2 separate regions of the Homo sapiens genome follow, and region 1 is linked to region 2. The links are contacts of gene promoters, found by promoter capture Hi-C in blood cells and fetal thymus (Javierre and others, 2016). All regions are on one chromosome and are shown on one strand. The core of a region is centred on a gene start or on the middle of the fragment in contact, and the rest is flanking DNA. Distances in the headings are between cores, read along the strand shown. Region 1 overlaps ATRIP (ATR interacting protein). Region 2 holds the start of SLC26A6 (solute carrier family 26 member 6).

Evidence for each region. The method cuts DNA at HindIII sites, captures the fragments that hold promoters and counts their contacts. A CHiCAGO score of 5 or more calls a contact.
Region 1: a fragment that was not itself captured here is called in contact with the fragment with the promoter of SLC26A6 in region 2 in 4 of 17 cell types (M2 macrophages, M1 macrophages, M0 macrophages and 1 more); the score reaches 9.0 in M2 macrophages.

What each region holds. Positions count from the first base shown.
Region 1 is chr3:48,460,949-48,463,648 of GRCh38, forward strand. All of the region lies in intron 8 of ATRIP (ATR interacting protein), which reads left to right. ATRIP-TREX1 (ATRIP-TREX1 readthrough) reads left to right here. Exons shown (of 15, transcript NR_153405.1): 9 at 413-497. Among named protein-coding and RNA genes, the nearest start is that of TREX1, 3.9 kb to the right of the region's middle. The HindIII fragment of the contact is 4,574 bases long and covers 1-2,700 here.
Region 2 is chr3:48,634,141-48,636,840 of GRCh38, forward strand. SLC26A6 (solute carrier family 26 member 6) reads right to left here and starts at 1,321. Exons shown (of 21, transcript NM_022911.3): 1 at 1,231-1,321. The coding sequence starts at 1,253. It overlaps CELSR3 (cadherin EGF LAG seven-pass G-type receptor 3), which reads right to left. Exons shown (of 35, transcript NM_001407.3): 35 at 2,323-2,700. RefSeq lists silencers at 760-859, 1,250-1,529. The HindIII fragment of the contact is 3,939 bases long and covers 509-2,700 here.

The DNA.
Region 1 (2,700 bases), core at 27-2,526, 170 kb before region 2:
AGTGGGGCCAAATGGGAGAACCAAGGAAGTGGTTTATTTGATTTAATTCTGCCTCTGAACAACAGGTAAGCAAAAGGCACACATGATTAAAGGAGGCTGCTAACCTCTGTGGAGGAGGGCCCTGCCCCAGGACAAGGGTTAAGACAAGGGGCCTCTGAACCTGAGATGTGGGTAAGGTGAAGACCACACATCACAAGCACGTTGAAGTTTAGTGGTTTCCCTAAGGAAGCAGAGGATGTGGAGAGGGTCTGCAGCCCACGGGCTGACCTTGCTGGGAGTCTCTGCCTGTCATTGTGCCCATCTTTAGCATGCATCTGGGGTGGCCTGTTCTTCTTAAGGTTTGTGGGTAGTATATTATAGTGAACCTAGCGAATGAACACTGTGATCATAAATTCCTCCCTTGGGATTCCAGAGCCGCAAGATTGGGGAGAACTGTGAACACAACCAGCCCACCCCCTCATCCAGTAATCCAGTCTCCCTCAGCACTCTACCAAAGGGTCAGTTTCTATGTTGGAATGATTCCACTGGCTGAATATATCTTAAATCATCTCATCTCTGAGCTCAGCACTGCTGTTTCCTAGATCTGTTTCCATCTGAATATTTTTGGTTGGTCTGGCCCATGCTAAAGGTGGTACTCAGCTGGACACAGCACTGCAGTGTAGTGTGGGCAGTGGGATCAGGCAGACTCAGGACTCAAGTGCCCAGCAGGGGCCCAGCTCATAGTGGCTGTTTTTTTTTGTTGTTGTTTATTTGTTTGTTTTTGTTTTTGTTTTGAGACGAAGTTTTGCTCTTGTTGTCCAAGCTGGAGTGCAGTGGTGCGATCTCGGCTCACTGCAACCTCCACTTCCCAGGTTCAAGCAGTTCTCCTGCCTCAGCCTCCTGAGACGCTGAGATTACAGGCACCTGCCACCACACCTGGCTAATTTTTTATATTTTTAGTAGAGACAGGGTTTCACCATGTTGGCCAGGCTTGTCTCAAATGCCGGACCTCAGGTGATCCACCTGCCTTGGCCTGCCAAAGTGCAAGGATTACAGGCGTGAGCCACCGGGCCCAGCCTTGGTTATTTGTTTAATAATTGTTAAATGAATGAATCCCAGGCTGGGCACAGTGGCTCCTGCCTGTAATCTCAGCACTTTGGGAGGCCAAGGTGGGAGGATCACTTGAGCCCAGGAGTTTGAGACCAGCGTGGGCAACAAAGCAAGACTCCCAGCTCTACAATTTTTTTTTTTTTAATTAGCCAGGCATGGTGGCAGTGAGCTATGACCATGCCACTGCACTCCAGCCTAGGTGACAGAGTGAGACCCTATCTCAAAGAATCCCAGAAACCATGTTTTTACTGGTGGTAGACACACCATTATTCCACTCCTGTTGAGCTTGTCCACAGGGACATTCAAAACACAGCCACAGCTGGGCATTTATCTATTTCATGTACTGGGGCTCTTCATAAAATTTCATTTAAAGAGGTTCTTAGGGGCTGGGCATGGTGGCTCACGCCTGTAATCCCAGCACTTTAGGAAGCCGAGGTGGGTGGATCACGAGGTCAGGAGATCGAGACCATCCTGGCTAACATGGTGAAACCCCGTCTCTACTAAAAATACAAAAAAGTAGCTGGGCGTGGTGGCAGGCACCTGTAGTCCCAGCTACTCGGGAGGCTGAGGCAGGAGAATCGCTTGAACCCTGGAGGCGGAGGTTGCAGTGAGCTGAGTTTGCGCCACTGCACTCCAGCCTGGGTGACAGAGCGAGACTCAGTTTCAAAAAAAAAAAGTTCTTAACGCTATCAAAAAATAACTTGGAAACCACTGTGGTGTACATAAAAGTGGATTTTCCTTGCAGTACCTTCTGCAAGTGGCAGATATTGGACATCTTACAGCCCAATAATGAAACCAGGTAATAACCATGTTAAAATTCCAGCTTCCCACAAAGGGCTGCACACCCTGGCAACTAAAAAGCATTGAACTTTTTGTCTGCTGTGCAGGATTTGCCCTAAAGTGAGTTCACCCCACATAGTGAGACCTTGCTTCCTAAGGACACACTGAGGGATATCTTGACCTTCTGTGCTTAGAAACTGCAGATGTCTGAAGGGGTACACACCTGGCCAGACCCCATAGAGTGTTTCAGAATTGCCCTCCTCCCCACCCACCAGGCCAGTCCATCGTGCTCCCCCAGGCTATGTGGGTTGAGCAAACAGCAGCAGTTGCCTTGGGGCTTGGTTTATTGGGGTAATAGCTTTCCTTTTGCCCCTGAGACCTGGGGCAGTATGCCCAGAACCCCTCCCTCCTGCACACCCCACAGTAGGCACATTCTCCCACTGGCAGCAGATGTGTTTTCTGGCAAGTAGAGAAAATGGCTTTCCTTGCCCTGTGAGAGGTCTCATAAGATCCAGCCATAGCCAAGGCCATGTTTGTCACCTCTGGAGGCCTGGTCAGTCCTTCTGTGGGCACAGAACATTTCTCTCCCACCTAAGTTAGGACCTGCATCCCTGTTTGGGAGCATGTGGAAGCCAGGCATCCCAGATCCAGGAGGTCATCCCACTTCCTGGGCGATGCTACACCAGATAAGGGCCTGTCCTCTCAGCTGCAGCAGTCTTGCAGTGGAAGTGCCCACTTGTTCACATGAAACAAGTTTCATAGCAAGTAAGTAGGGGTCAGGCCAGCACTGAAACCCAAGTCTGGCTGAACCAACTCACCTGTTCATACTGA
Region 2 (2,700 bases), core at 71-2,570:
TTGGAGCCAAGCTTGCCCCTGGGCCTCCAGCCCCAGGGTCCAGGTTGTAGACGGCTCAGGCCTGTTATGGGGAAGCCAAGGACTGGCTCTCACCTGAGAAGGAGCTTGCTCTTGGAGTGGCAATCTCTCACCTAGAGGGAGAGGCTCCCACATGGAAAGGGAAGTACCCACTTGAAGTGGGGGAAAGAGCTCACCTGGGAATAGAAGCTTTCAAGGGGAATCTCACCTAGAGGGATCTCTGACCTACCAGGGAATCTTTATCAGCCTGGCAAGTTCTGATACAGGGGGAATCTTCCCTCTGCCCAGAGGCACCTACTTGAAGTCAGAGAAAGATCTCACATGGGAAGAAAAGACCTAGAGGGAGAGGGTTCTCACCTGGGGGGTACTCTCCCATAGAGAAAGCTCTGACCTCGGGCGAGGCTCCCACGTGGAATGGGGAAAAGCTGTCACCTGGGAATAGATCTCACAGAAGGATCTTACCTGGGGGAAAACTCTAGCCTGTTGGGGAAGCTTTCACCAGTCAGGAAAGTTCTGATCTAGGAAAAGCCCTGACCTGGGGAGAGGATCCCATTTGAGGGACAGGAACTCACCTGGGAAGCGCCTCTAACCTGGCTGTACTGTTGGAGGAGTGTGGAGTGGGTGCAAGGAAGATCCTCAGAGACTCTTGGGACCGCTATCTCAAGGAGATCGTAGAGCCCCCTCTCCTTTCCTACGTGAGTCACTCAGGTCTTCTTAAAGGGCTCCCTCCCCCGACAACTTGGGACCCGCGTTTGGAGGGCGGAGCCTTGATCATTGGCCCCTCCCTGTAGGAAGGCAACTGGGGCCAGAAAGGCCGGAGCGCTCACTCCGGGATCAGTGGAGCTGGGTGGACTCGGGACTCAGCTGAAAGCAGCTAGTCCACGGGCCGCTGCCAGGGACTCCCGTGCCCCACGCACCCCCGCCGGCACATCTCCTGGCCGGGCTCCTCCGCACGCAGCTGCCTCCCTGTGGCCCGGGATGGCCCTCGGGCGTCACACCAGCGGCTTTCCGCACAGCCCAAGGGACTGGGGTCGCGCCGGCTCCCGCCCCCACCCCTTGCTGCAGAGGGGCAGCCGCCTGCAGAAAATCAGCAGAGGTAAACCGAGGCGTCGCAAGCGGAGAATGCCTGCTCCAGCGAGGCGTCGCAAGCGGAGAATGCCTGCTCCAGCGAGGCGCTCGCGCGGGGCCACCGGGAATGTGCGCTGAACTCACCCCGACGCATCCGCCAGCCCCATGGCTCGCAAGTTGTCCGGTGCGGGCTGCTCCTGCTGCTCGAGCTAGAGGCCGCTACGCTCCGGAAGGCGGCGCCGGGACCGGGTGAGGCCAGCTGCGCTCTCCCGGGGGCTAATCCCGGGGCAGGACGGGGAGGCTTGGGCCAATCAGCGCGCTGGGGCGGGGCCTAAGTGGCGCGCGCCGGGCGGGGAGAGACTGGAGAAGGAGGATTTAACCGCTTCCTCCCCGGCGACCTGGCCTATGAGGCCTCTCGCTGCTCGCCCGGCCCTCTGCCCGGAGCTGGATGGGACTGCAGAACTGGAACTAAGCACCCGCGCCGGGCTGGCCGCAGTCGCGCCCCCAGGCCCTGAGTAGGTTGGAGCTGATCCCAGGTCCTGGCTCGGCGGAAGGTGCTCACGGAGTGGGAAAAGGAAACTCCACTGGCCGGTGACCCCAGCCTTAACTCGTAGGGGATCCAGGTCTGTGGGGCCTCTCTTGCCTTCAGCTGAGAGCGCCACCCGCAGGCTTTCTGCGACTACGCATCTCTTTGAGACCCGGAGCCAACGGTCCCCAAGTCCTCCCCTTTAACTCTGGCCACCCAGGCCAGAAATGGTTGGAGGATCCCCTCCGCTGCACTAAGCACAGCCCGGACGTAGCTCCCAGAAGGTTACTGCGCGGGCCGCCGAGGAGAATGGTGGGGGTCAGTGCTGTTGGGTGGGCGTCAGTGCTGTTGGGTGGGCAAGGCAGGAACTGCAAGAGCAGTTCCTCAGGTTGGTTTCACCGCAGGTGAGGGCAAAAAATGCCGGGTCAGGGCTGCAGACCCTGAAGAATTAGGAAGTCCTGTTGCCGTTGCCTTGACCAGCGGGGAGGTTTTCCTTAGCACCTTATTTTCAGCACCTGTGCTCCAACATCAGGCCCCAATTACAAAGTGAGGGGCCAGATTTCAAGGTGAAAGAGATCTGCCATGAAATGGGCTAAAAATAGCTGGATATTCTTGGGAGGGGCTCAGATTCCTCCCAAAGGTCAGTCTGGCTTGAATCATTCACAGCTTCCATCCTACCTCCCCAGCCCCCAACAGGAAAAGGCAACAACTGTTTTCTATAGAAGTTTATTCCCAAAACAGAGCGCGGCTTCACGGAACAATTTACACAGACAGGAAAGAGGGCCGCTGGGCTGGAGGAGGGGAACCCCAGAGAGGGGCATCTACGAAACCTAGGACATAGTAAAGACACCCTCCCACCCCCAGCAGGCCACTCAGCCCTTCAAGAGCTGGGGTCCTTCTCGGTAAGGAGAGTTTGGGTCCTGGCTGGTGGGATTTAGCTCCAGTCAGGGAAGTAGAATTTCTAATCTCCCAGGAAGCTGCTTCCCAAGAGTATGCATGGGGTGGTGGGTGAGGAGGTGTCTGCACAGACCACCCCCCAGCCCTGCACAGCCACTCTCCCCCGTGGTTAGAGGACGCCTACTCTCAAG